Linked DNA regions of Homo sapiens: all the other regions are linked to region 1. The links are contacts of gene promoters, found by promoter capture Hi-C in human tissues and cell types (Jung and others, 2019). All regions are on one chromosome and are shown on one strand. The core of a region is centred on a gene start or on the middle of the fragment in contact, and the rest is flanking DNA. Distances in the headings are between cores, read along the strand shown.

Region 1 (4,242 bases), core at 448-2,947:
CAGGCTGGTCTCGAACTCCTAACCTCAAGTGATCCGCCCGCCTCGGCCTCCCAAAGTGCTGGGATTACACGCATGAGCCACTGTGCCTGGCCTTGCTCACTATTTTTTCTGGAGACGGTCTCGTTCTGTCACCCAGGTTGGAGTGCAGTGGCCCGATCTCAGATCATTGCAACCTCCACCTCCCGGGTTCAAGCGATTCTCCTGCCTCAGCCTCCCGAGTAGCTGGGATTACAGGTGCCTGCTACCACGCCTGGCTACTTTTTGTATTTTCAGTAGAGATAAGGTTTCGCCACGTTGCCCAAGCTGGTGTGGAACTCTTGAGCTCAGGTGATCCGCCTGCTTCGGCCTCCCAAAGTACTGGGGTTACAGGCGTGAGCCACAGGGCCCGGCCCACTATTTTTATCACTCAAGATTTTCGTCTACAGCAGCTATTATTGGGGTGGCTACCCAGTGGAAAATTTTTCTATTTCCACTATTCCTTCCACATTTATTGACAGGAAAGCTAGTCTAAGGAAGAGCTGTACCCTCACTTACTCAGACCCTCGTTTTCCTTTTTTTTTTTTTTTTTTTTGAGACGGAGTCTCACTCTGCCGCCCAGGCTAGAGTGAAAGTGGTGCTATCTCGGATCACTGCAGCCTGGAACTCCTGGACTCAGGTGATCCTTCCACCTCAGCCTCCCGAGTAGCTCGGACCACAGGCGCCCGCCACCACGCGGCTAATTAAAAATAATTTTGGGCCCGGCGCGGTGGCTCATGCCTGTAATCCCAGCACTTTGGGAGGCCGAGGCGGGCAGATCAATTGAGGCCAGGAGTTTGATACCAGCCTGGCCAACATGGTGAAACCCCGTCTCTACCAAAAATATAAAAATTAGCCGGGCGTGGTGGTGGGCGCCTGTAATCCCAGTTACTCGGGTGGGTGAGCCAGGAGAATCGCTTGAATCCGGGAGGCAAAGGTTGCAGTGAGCTGAGATCGCGCCACTGCACCCCAGCCTGGGAGACAAAGCGAGACACCGCCTCAAAAAAAAAAAAAAAAAGAAAGAAAATTTGTAGATACTGGGCTCTCACTATGTTAGCCAGGCTGGTCTCGAACTCCTGGGCTCAAGTAATCCTCCTGACTCGACCTCCCAAAACTCTGGGATTACAGGCGCAAGCCACCGTGCCCGGCCGAACCACCGTGCCCGGCCGAACCCTCCCTGTTTTGGAAATCCTGTATTAGCAAAGGGGACAGCGCCAGACAGTTGAGCACACGCGTTCTTTATAAATGATGATGTCTGATACAGTGATGCTTTTAACAGGGTTGTGTAACGCCTGTGTGTGCACGGTCTCTTCTGCAGTGTCCACCGAAGGTGGCCCGTCTGCGTGTCCGCTCCCGGCGTACTCCGCGCTCCCTGTTCCCGGCATTCCCCGCGCTCCCCGAGCTTCCCGCGCTCCCCTGCTCCCGGCATTCCCGGTGCTTCCCGTTCCCGGCGCTCCTCGCGGCCGCCGCCCTCAGTCCAGCGAGCCCCGCCTGGGCAGCGACTGTTAGCGCGACCGCGGCCTGGGCGCCTGGTCCCTCCCGCGCGGCCGCGCTATTGGGCCGCGCGCGGCGGACACACGCGCTACGCGCCGCCGATTGGCGGCCTCCGCAGCGCGCTCTGCGGCTCCCCCAATGCGGGGCGGCCGCGCGCGGGGATTGGCCGCACGCCGCGAAGGCCCGCCCTCCGCTCGCCCGGCGCGGCAGGCGGGTGCCGGCGACCGGAGAGCCTGGACAGGCTTTCCAGATGGCTGCGGCGGTCGGTCGGTGAGGCTTTCCCGGCTGTGGTTTGGCTGCGGGCGGCTTGGGCAGCCCGCGGGCGCCTCAGGTAGGTGCGGGGCGCGAGGGGCGCCCGCGGGCGGTTGGGCGGGCGCCGCGGCCTGCGCGAGGGCGCGCCCTTCCCTCCCGCCTCCCTCCGGGACCGAGGCCGCGGGCGGGGCGGGGGCGCGGAGCCCGGCCTTTGTGAGGCAACATGGCCGCGGGCGGTGGAGAGCGCGGGGTGGGGACGCCTCCGGGGCTGGGGGGCGGGCCCCGGGCCCAGGCGTTGCCGACTCTCGTCGCTGTCCGCCCGGGTAAAGAGGCTCCTCTCCCGGAGGGCCCGAAGCCTAGCATCGCCTTCAGGCGGGAAAGGTGTGGACAGGGCCAGTGCTCGCCTGGGACCCTGCCGGCTTTAACACAGTTTGGGAAATCCAAGAAGTCGCCTAAGTCTTTTTGTCCACAGAATGCTCACGGGTTGAGTGTCACGTAGATAATTGGGATACGGTTTTATTGTAACAATGAGCATGGCGGAAATAAATGGAAGGTGGCAACCTGTTGACAGTGATGCCTGTCTGGTGTCAACCGATGGACTTGGGTTTCTTGTGGCAGGAGTCTGATTTGCCTTTTTGCATGCTTGCATGTACCTTGTTCCTGCACGGCAGTCCTGTCTTTGGCTGTCGACTGTTCGAGGCCAACCACCAGGCGAGGATCCACTGTTTCCTGGCCAGACTAGACTCCCAGCTGTGGGAGTGGCCCAAACCCTGCTGCAGGCCTTCACTCACAAAAGGGAGTGAATGGCCAGCCCGGGGTACCCAGTGTTGCCTCTAAGTGCGGGATATGAGGCCTGTTGGAGGATGACAAAAGGAACGGATGAGGTCATACTGCCGCTGGGTTGGGCGGGAGGCTGCAGCGGGAGAGACTTGACCAAAAGGCAGCCTCCATGGCGCTGGCACTGGTGCTGGCCCGTCACAGCCAGTGCCTCTGTTAGCCAACACAGCAAGTGGGCTAGGAGGAAGGGTGCTGTCCAAGTGTACGGGTTTTCTCCCCGTGCCAAGGGTCCAGGGGAGCTTGCCGTGAGCCCGTTCCTGTCCGATAGTCCTGTTGGCAAGGCAGGGTTTGCATGCGGTGTTTGGTCAGCTGGAGCAGTGGGGAGGCCTACGGGCAGAGAGCTCCCCTTTGAGCCCTTTGCGGCCAGGCGCTGTGTGGAGCACTTCCCAGGGGTTGTTTTGTAGTCTCACCGTGACCTTGGGGTAGGAAATGTGCTTCTGGCTGGCTTGCCCAGTCTTAGACTCTCTTGTTGTAGCCCTCTCCTTTGTGATGTCACCCAGCCTCCTGACTTTAATGCCAGCTTTCCTTGACATCTTCACAGCTCCAGCCCTGGCCTCTCTTCTGATTTCCAGCCTGGTGTTTCTGGCCACCTCTTCCATATCTCCATGTGTTACTTTGGCGCCAAGTAGCCATATCCAAACCAAACTCAAATCTTCACCCATGCCAAAACATTCCTTGGCCTATCTAAAGTCCCTTTGATTCCTCTCTTTCTTACACCTTCATGCAGTCCTAAGGAGGCCCCGTCAGCTCACCTATTTCTAAGCACAGACCATTTCTCACCACCTTCAAGTTAACATCCTGGCCCAGCCTACCTGGTGAGCCTCTAATTCTCTTTACTGTCACCTTAGGTCCTCACTCCCCATCCACCATCTATAGTTTTTCTGGACACAGAGTGATTCTTCTTTCTTTCTTTTTTTTTTTTTTTGTTTTTTTGAGACAGAATCTCGCTCTGTCGCCCAGACTGGAGTGCAGTGGCGTGATCTCAGCTCACTGCAACTTCTGCCTCCCGGGTTCAAGCGATTCTCCTGCCTCAGCCTCCCAAGTAGCTGGGACTGCAGGCGTCCACCACCACCACGCCCGGCTGATTTTTGTATTTTTAGTAGAGACGGGGTTTCACCATGTTGGCCAGGCTGGTCTCGAACTCCTGGCCTCAAATGATCTGCCTGCCTCAGCCTTCCAGAGCGCTGGGATTACAGGCGTGAGCCACTGTGCCTGGCCACAGAGTGATTCTTTTTATTTTTTTGAGACAGAGTCTCGCTTTGTTGCTCAGGCTGGAGTGCAGTGGTGCGATCTCCCGCTCACTGTAAGCTTCGCCTCCTGGGTTCAAGCCATTCTCCTGCCTCAGCCTCCCGAGTAGCTGGGACTATAGGCGCCCACCACCACACTCGGCTAATTTTTTGTATTTTTAATAGAGACGGGGTTTCAATGTGTTAGCCAGGGTGGTGTCGATCTCCTGACCTTGTGGTCCGCCTGCCTCAGCCTCCCAAAGTGCTGGGATTACAGTCGTGCACCACCGCGCCCGGCCCAGAGTGGTTCTTTTAAACCATAAGATGGTATAAAACAGAGGCGGTGTAGATGCAAGCCAGCTTGCCTGCTTGTAAAGCAGCTCCATCACTTCCTGGCTGTATGACCTTGAGCATGTGG
Region 2 (4,242 bases), core at 799-3,298, 650 kb before region 1:
GAAGCAGTCAGAGGACAAGCTCCAGGGACCAGACTCCTGGTCCCATGCTGTACCACGTGGTTTCTGAAAGCTGTCCTTCTGAGGAGGAAATGGGCCTGAAGCTCTCCAGGACGGAGTGGCCAGCCTCAGCACAAAGACCAGTGCTTAGCAAATTAGAAAGAGTAAGTCTGGGCTTGGGCTGGAGTCTAAGTGTGACTCTCAACACATCTCCATCACATCTAGTGGAATCTTGGTGCCAGGGGGTCACCTCATCTCACTCAGCCTAAGTTTCCATCTGTGAACTGTAATGCTGCAAGTCATAGAGAATTTCGAGGGTAATCTTCTATCGTATATAACAAGTCCTGAGATAGGTCAGCTTCAGGGTGCATTAATTTAGCAACTTAAAGAGACGTGTCCCTCTGTCTTCCTCTCCTGTCATCAGTGTCGGCCCTGTTCCAAGCTGGCTTTTACACGCAGACCTAGTAAAGTCCAGCAGAAGAGACTAGCCTGTCAAGCATCTCCTCTTATTTAATTCCCTAGGAGGTCCCAGCAGACGTCCCCTCCTAGTCTCAAGGGCCAAAATGGCATCACATGGCTGTTCCTCAACAAATCCTTGGCATTTACCCACACATCAGCTTAGGGCTATCAGCAGGTTGGCCTGCAGAAGGCAGACCAAAAAAATTGGGGTTCTGCTAACAAGGAACAAGGCAGGCAACCCTACAATATTTGCAACACTCCCTTTGTGCTATTTGACAATATGCACAATGTTCACAATCCCACTCACTTCTAGGTGTTGTTGCTGACTCTGGCAGGATGATAAAATGTGCTTTGCATAAATTTTTGGTCCCCAGGGCTCATTCCATACCTCTGGTTCATGTGCTAGACACTTCTGCAGTCCATAGGCAAACACCCCGGATGAACAGAACATGCTAGCAACCTCTGGGGAAAGGGAGGGGTCAAGCCAGACACAGAGCATCCTCTTCCTGGTCACCGACAGGACCCAAGATCAGCACAGTGGAAGCAGGTCTCCTACTTGGCTTCAGTGGTCAAGGCCAGACGCTCCTCAGAAGTCCCTCCCAGCTGTGTAACTATGATTCTGCTCATAAAGTGAAAATAGTTTTCAACCACTTCTTAGAGTAAAACAAATGTTTAAGAAAATCCCATTTCCTGGCCTTCATCCATATTCTTTCTGCAGCATATTAAAGAAATAAATTCAGAGAGAGGCTGGGAGCGGTGGCTCACACCTGTAATACCAGCACTTTGGGAGGCCGAGGCGGGTGGATCACCTGAGGTCAGGAGTTCGAGAGCAGCCAGGCCAACGTGGCGAAAATGTGTATTAAAAATACAAAAACACTAAATACCGAATACTAAAAATACAAAAATTAGCCAGGCGTGGTGGCATGTGCCTGTAATCCCAGCTACTCGGGAGGCTGAGGTAGGAGAATCACTTGAACCCGGGAGGTGGAGGTTGCAGTGAGCTGAGACCATGCCACTGCACTCCAGCCTGGCCTGGGTAACAGAGCGAGACTCTGTCTCAAAATAAATAAAGAAAATATATAAGTAAATAAATACATTCAGAGTGGCCCAAATCTACAGTCACCTGCCTACATGGCCAAGTCCCATTAATTCTACCTCTACCCTGTCTTTAGTGCCTCTCTATTTCTCACCTCCATCACCTGTGATCTCCCTGTCTCCCTGAGCATCTCACCAAGACTAGAAATTCCTAACTCCTCTAGGGCCTGCCTAAGACACAGGTTGGGTGTTTCATCCAGCTTCCTCAGAAGCCTCAATGTTCTCCTCTCTCCCCTAACCCCAAGAAGGAAGTTCAAGCTGCTGGCAAGGCTCTGCCTCCCAGCCCCATTCTCCCTCTTGCCCTGTTTAGCCTCCCTCCTAACATGTTCTATGTCTTTCCCTAAATGCTTTCACCCTCTGGGCCTTTTCTCCTGATGGTCTCATGTGCTGTAGCGCCTTCTCTGCCATCACAATTCTAGTCACGTCAAGGTTCAGTCCAAGGACACATCCACAAACCCGACTCTGCTGGTGAAGTGCCCTTCCTCCTTGGGCTATCACGCTTATTCCTCTAGCTCCTGTTTCCCCTGCCCTGCATTCTAGAATACGGTTTGTATGTCAATCTCTCTCATCTATCTTCCACACAGCTTTCTGTTCAGAGAGAGAGCCTTATTTACCTCTGGTCCCCACAGAACTCTTACCAGAAAGGTTCAATGTTTGTTGCATAAATCAGTGAAAAATCCACAGCAAAATCTCACCCAGTTTTCTTCTGACTCTTCAGATGTACTCTGGTTATTTTCCTAAATCAACCTACTGTCTTCAGGCATAAGTCAGGAGAGAAATTGCTGAGAGAATTTGCATTTTCTGAGCTACCACATGGAGCAGGTGAGGCAAGAATTACTGACTTCATGAACAGATTAGGAAGAGATGGAAAAACTTTTTATGTCACATATTTAGTAAGCAGCAGGGCACAGAGACTCCAGAGCAGGATATCTGATTCCAAAAACAGAAGACAAAATTCTTGTCCTCAAGAAACTTACAGTCTAGTCGGAACTGTAAGACAAATACACCAAAAGGCAAATAACTTATTCAGAGCGGGGTTTCTCACCCTTAGCACTATTGATATTTGGGGCTAGATAATTCTCCATGAGTGGGCTGTCCTGCATGCTATACGATGTTTAACAGATTTGTCCCCTACCCACTTGATACCAGTAGCACGTACCCTGCCCAACCCTGTTGTGACAACCACAAATGTCTCTAGACATTGCCCTGTAGAACCACTGATCTAAAGCAACTGCCATGTTTATCTCTCAACCACTGCAATCATATAACCTCACCATTAGGATCCTTTCCCTGCCAATTCTCAGACATAGGTCTGCAGTGCCCTCCGGCAGCAGGCTGGACCTTACCCACCCACTCCTAACTTTATCATTATATGATTCTGCCTACATTTTCCCTTCAAGCTGAATTATTTAATTTTCATGCTGATGTCTCAGTAGGACAGCTTCAAATCCTTTTCAGAATGACACAAGGTAGGGGTAAAAATAATCCAATCGCAGGACAGGAGAAAATACACACCATAAGGCCATGTGATTACCAGCAAATTACCCTGTTCTTGAAAATTTCCCAAATCCCTTTTCATAACACTGCCATCAAAGTGTGAACCAAAGGCCAAAGGTGGACAAGAGCTCTTTCAGTCCTGGCCCTCTTGGTTAGAACTGGCTTCACCAAAGAGCTGAGCATAAGCGCTGTCTGCCCAGGCATGAGAATTCCAGAAAAAACTCAGGAGCAAAGGCCCAGAGTTGGGAAGAGCCATGAATCTCAACGAGATTTTCTAAACATACAAACTCCATATTTCTACAAACTTTAAAACCAGAAACCTAGTTGTTTTTACTTTCTGACCTTAACCTAACTTAGAAATAAAGCTTATTTTGGTCAATTCTAAAATAAAATATATAGAGAATACTGTATCCAAGAACACGAAGTAAAATGTGTATGTATGAACAATAACTGACACATCTTCTATATAAATGATAGCTATTATATTTCAATTTAACAATCTTTTATATTTGGTCCCAGGATAAAATGGAAGAGGTAAGTCTTATTTTACCAAGGCCCAGAAGTAGAGTTATAAGTCCAAGAATTTACAGCTAGTAAATGATGCAGTTTTGAACCCAGTCTGATTCCACATTCAAGGCTCATTTCACTACAACGTGACAACTTCAAGATTAACTTATTGATAACCTTAGACAAGTGCTTCTCAATTGGGGGTGATTTTGGCTACCAATGGACATTGGCAATGACTGGAGATATTTTTGGTTGATACAACTAGAAGTTGTATCAACTTACTCTAAGAAGGTGTTTGTGAAGTGCTACTGGCATCTGGTGGGTAGAGGCCAAGGATACTAGAAACATTCTATAACATAGATGACAATCACACAATTTTATGGCCCAAAATGTCAACCTGCTGAAGTTGGGAAACCCTACCTTAGAGGTGTCTCTATTATCAGCCAAGAAAATGAAGACCAAAGTACACCCACATTTCAATAAATACTTCTTCTCCTGTTCTAGCTACCCTCTCCACTTTGAATGGATTCCCTGCCACACCAGAGAAAAATGCTGAGCTGTCTGCTACTTCCCCCTTTAGACTCTCGAAAAACAGAAAAAGTATGTTCATGCTGGGTGCAGTGGCTCACGCCTGTAGTCCCAGCTACTCAGGATGCTGAGGCAGGAAGATCCCTTGAGCCCAGGTAT
Region 3 (4,242 bases), core at 802-3,301, 620 kb before region 1:
TTGCTTTTTTTTTTTTTTTTTTTTCGAGATGGAGGCTCGCTCTGGCACCCAAGCTGGAGTGCAATGGTATGGTCTTGGCTCACTGCAACCTCCGCCTCCCGGGTTCCAGCGATTCTCTTGCCTCAGCCTCCCAAGTAACTGGGACTACAGGTGCGTGCCACCACACCCAGCTAATTTTTGTGTTTTTAGTAGAGATGGTGTTTCACTATGTTGGCCAGGCTGGTCTTGAACTCCTGACGTTGTGATCCACCCGCCTCAGCCTCCCAAAGTGCTGGGATTACAGGCATGGGCCACCATGCCCGGCCAGTATGTCTTGCTTTTACAACCATTTTAAAAAGTCTGGATAGTCCCACCATTTAAAAAAAAAACCTAAGCAGGGCCAAATCTACTTTTAAAAGTGTCATAATTATTGAATAGATAAGGAATAAAAAAAGGATCTGTCATTGTGTGGATATACTACCACTTATCCACTGAGCATCCGGCCTGTTTCCAATCATTTTGCTGTGTTAATGACACTACTATAAACATTCAAACATGTCTCCTAGGGCTTGGCTCATGCTTCTCTACCGTTTTCATGTTTTCAAAAGGCCACAAATAATCAGTGGGTCATAAAACCAACAGGGCTGCAAGCAGAACTGAAAAGGAAAGAATTGGAAGACAGTACCCTAGAAGTACTATTGCATTTAGTAAGGATAAATATTCCTGTGACATTTTCCATTTACTTTTATGTATTGGCATAATATTAAATACTTTTTTTTTAAACTATGGGACCAATTTTCTAGGTTGGTGCTCCTCAAACTACCTGGGAAGACCTAGTTTTTAAAAATGTGCAGTCTGCTGGACTGCCATGTGGTCCTCCTGCACAGAAGCAAGACACAACACACACCAGACGCCCAGAGCTCACCAAGACAAGTACTGGTTCTGTGGCCATGTGTGTGGAGGTTATGACAATGCCAAATTACTATACGTTTCTAAACATTCACTTTTGATTCCTGCTTCCTCGAGGCCCTGGCAACCACCATTCTTTTTTTTTTTTTTTTTCCCTTGAGGCAGGGTCTTGCTCAGTCCCCCAGGCTGGAGTGCAGTGCCTTGACCCTGGCTCACTGCAGACTCAACTGATCCTCCCGCCTCAGCCTCCTGAATAGCTGTAACTAGGCACATGCCACTACGCCCAGCTAATTTTAAAATTTTTTCATTAATTTTTTGTAGTGACAGGATCACACTATGTTACCCAGGCTACTCTCAAACTCCTGGGCTCAAACAATCCTCCAACCTTGGCCTCCCAAAGTGCTGGGATGCCAGGTGTGAACCACGGTGTCCAGGTGATTCTACTTTCTGTCTCCCATGAGTTTGACTACTCTAAGTACTCATGTAAGCGGAATGTAGTATTTGTCTGTCTGCATCTGGTTTATTTCACTGAGCAGAATGTTCATCCATGTGGTAGCATGTGTCAGAATTCCCTTCCTTTTTAATGTTGAATAATATTACATTGTATGTGTGTACCACATATTATTTACCCATTCATCTGCAATTTATTTTTGACTATGGTATGAGTTAGGAACTCAATTTGTTTTTTCATCTTAGGAATAGTCAATATCCCAGATTCCGCAACCCCAGTATCTCCTTTGCCTGGTGACATCAATGCTGCCTCAGTGGTGGACCAAGATTCTTTGTATATAAAGCTTTCTTCCACTGGCCTACTTGTCTACTCCAGAACCAATGCCATATGGTGTCTTAACTACTGGAGCTTTATTACACTCAGCTGCCGTATAGAATCTTCCTTATATATGACCAGATTCTTTTGTCAATATTTTATCTACAATCTATGTATCTGTATCAAGTGACAATGATCTGTAGTTTACCTTTCTCCTATCCTTGTGTGGTTTTGGTGATCAAGGTTATGCCGACCTCAGAGAATGAGTTGGGGGATATGTTCTTTCTCTATTTTTAGAATATCTAAGAGCAATTTATTGCTTGAGTGTGAGGAAGAACTTGCATATATAACCATCTGGGCCTGTGTTTCCTGGATTAAGATTTTTCTGATTGAATTACTTGACTGGCTATACAATTATTTAGGCTGTTTGTTTTTTTTTTTCTTTAGTCAAACTTCAATTACACTTTTCTCTAGGAAATAATTTATCAATGTCAAATAAGTTGGCTCATTTCTTAGTATAAAATTTTTCACAGTTTTATCTTTCAAGATATTTGCTTTATCTAATTCATTTTATTTGTTTTTAAACATTCAATATGCATGTAGACTTTTCAGGGTTTGCTTTTTTTTTGTTTGAGGCAAGGTCTTGCTTTATCACCTAGGCTAGAGTGCAGTGGCACGGTCACTGTTCACTGCAACTTCTGCCTCCCGGACTCAAGTGATCCTCCCACTTCAGCCTCCCAGGTAGCTGGGACTACAGGTGCATGCCACCATGCCCAGCTAATTTTTGTATTTTTTGTCGAGATGGGGTTTTGCCATGTTGCCCAGTCTGGTCTCAAACTCCTGGACTTAAGTGATCCACCCACCTCAGCCTCCCAAATTGCTGGGATTACAGGTGTGAGCTACCACACCCAGCTTCAGCTATCTTTTTTATTAACTTTATTGAATTGTAAACAGAGAACACTTTAATTCTAAACAACTCTCTCAAGAGAGTAAGTCTAGGCCAGGCGCGGTGGCTCACATCTATAATCCCAGCACTTTGGGAGGCTGAGGCTGATGGCTCACCTGAGGTCAGGAGTTCGAGACCAGCCTGGCCAACATGGTGAAACCTCGTCTCTACTAAAAATACAAAAGTAGCCGCAAGTGGTGGCACATGCCTGTAGTCCCAGCTACTCAGGTGGCTGAGATGAGACAGGAGAATTGCTCGAACCCAGGAGGTGGTAGCTGCAGTGAGCCAAGATCGCGCCACTGCACTCCAGCCAGGGTGAGACAAAGAGAGACTCTCTCAAAAAAAAAGAGAGTAAGTCTAAAGACTTACTCTTTTCCAACATTTTAGATGTCATTTTTTAAGCTTCATACATTAAACATTATTACTGCTTTATATGGCAACATTTACCCTGGATTCATATTTGCCAATTTATTTATTCCCTATTCCTTCTTGCTTTCCTTCTAGGATAATGCTTATTCCTAAAGTACATGCTTTTAAAATTCCATTGGTAAATAACCTCTCTCAGATTTGGTTCATCTGAAAATATTTTCACTTTGCCCTTATTCTTTAAGGAAGGTTTTGATGATAGTTACTTGATACTGGCTGTAACTGTTGCTATTCAAAGACCTGCTACTTGCTGTTCTTCTGAAGGTACTGTGTTTTCTCCCTGCTTACCTCTCTGTATTTGGTATTTTCTACCTGTAGCTTATTCTGTTTGTTATACATTATAAATTTCCTGTCATGATGGGCTGACCACCAATTCTAAATCAATTTCAGTTACCATCTCTTCAGATTATTGCAATTCCTCCATTCTTTCCTACTGGGATTGCAATGGGCATGTTTGACTTTCTCAGTGTCTTCAACATCTCAAGCTCTCATATGTTCCATCCCCTTGCTCCTCTGTGTGAAATTCTGTTATTTCTTCAGATTCATCTTTCATTAACTCTTTTATAGCTGTTGTTTAACATTGTTTTTCAAATCTTTCTGGTTATTTTTGATAGCCTTTTGTTGCTCGCTATTATAATTCCATTTTAAAAAATATCTTTGAACATTTTATATCTAATTATTTTACATTTGTATCTAGAAATTCTAATGCTGATTTCCTTAGGGATCTAATTTTTATTGTCTCTGCTTTGGTGTAGTTTAATTATGTGTTCTTTGCTTGTTCAATTGACAGCAATCCCAAAGACGTAACTAAACTGGAGTGCTTTTTCCAGAGAGGATCTGTTTATTTCTCCTGAGACAATGACAACACCCACCTCTGTGTATATTTTACTGCTTTTAAGGGTTCCCGTTCAATCCTGATCTCTGACTCAGATCTCCCACTAGAGCACTGATATGGCCATCTGCCCTCAGGGCAACCCAGCTTAGAGTGTTTAAAATTCTCTATAAGCACAACAGTACATTAATCAGAAGGGCCCATTAGAGGATCTAGTTTTCCCTACTTCTAAAAGTGGAAGTTCAAACCTGTGTTTCAATTTTACATACACTCTTATATAATGTACCCTCCCTTAGAGTGCAAAGTATCAGTACTATCCTTTATCATCAGTTTAGGAGTTATATGTAGTATTACTACCTTAACATTAAAAACAATAACATTAAA

What was found. The method cuts DNA at HindIII sites, captures the fragments that hold promoters and counts their contacts. A contact is called where the count stands out against the background at its distance.
Region 2: a fragment that was not itself captured here is called in contact with the fragment with the promoter of DGCR8 in region 1 in 1 of the 25 tissues and cell types used here (dorsolateral prefrontal cortex).
Region 3: a contact is called between a fragment that was not itself captured here and the fragment with the promoter of DGCR8 in region 1, in 1 of the 25 tissues and cell types used here (dorsolateral prefrontal cortex).

Annotation. Positions count from the first base shown.
Region 1 is chr22:20,078,544-20,082,785 of GRCh38, forward strand. It overlaps DGCR8 (DGCR8 microprocessor complex subunit), which reads left to right and starts at 1,698. Exons shown (of 14, transcript NM_022720.7): 1 at 1,698-1,840. RefSeq lists a silencer at 1,577-2,196 and an enhancer at 2,457-2,516. The HindIII fragment of the contact is 8,782 bases long and covers 1-4,242 here.
Region 2 is chr22:19,424,501-19,428,742 of GRCh38, forward strand. All of the region lies in intron 1 of HIRA (histone cell cycle regulator), which reads right to left. Among named protein-coding and RNA genes, the nearest start is that of HIRA, 5.1 kb to the right of the region's middle. The HindIII fragment of the contact is 8,909 bases long and covers 1-4,242 here.
Region 3 is chr22:19,459,732-19,463,973 of GRCh38, forward strand. The region is part of intron 6 of UFD1 (ubiquitin recognition factor in ER associated degradation 1); the gene reads right to left. Among named protein-coding and RNA genes, the nearest start is that of C22orf39, 14 kb to the left of the region's middle. The HindIII fragment of the contact is 3,163 bases long and covers 471-3,633 here.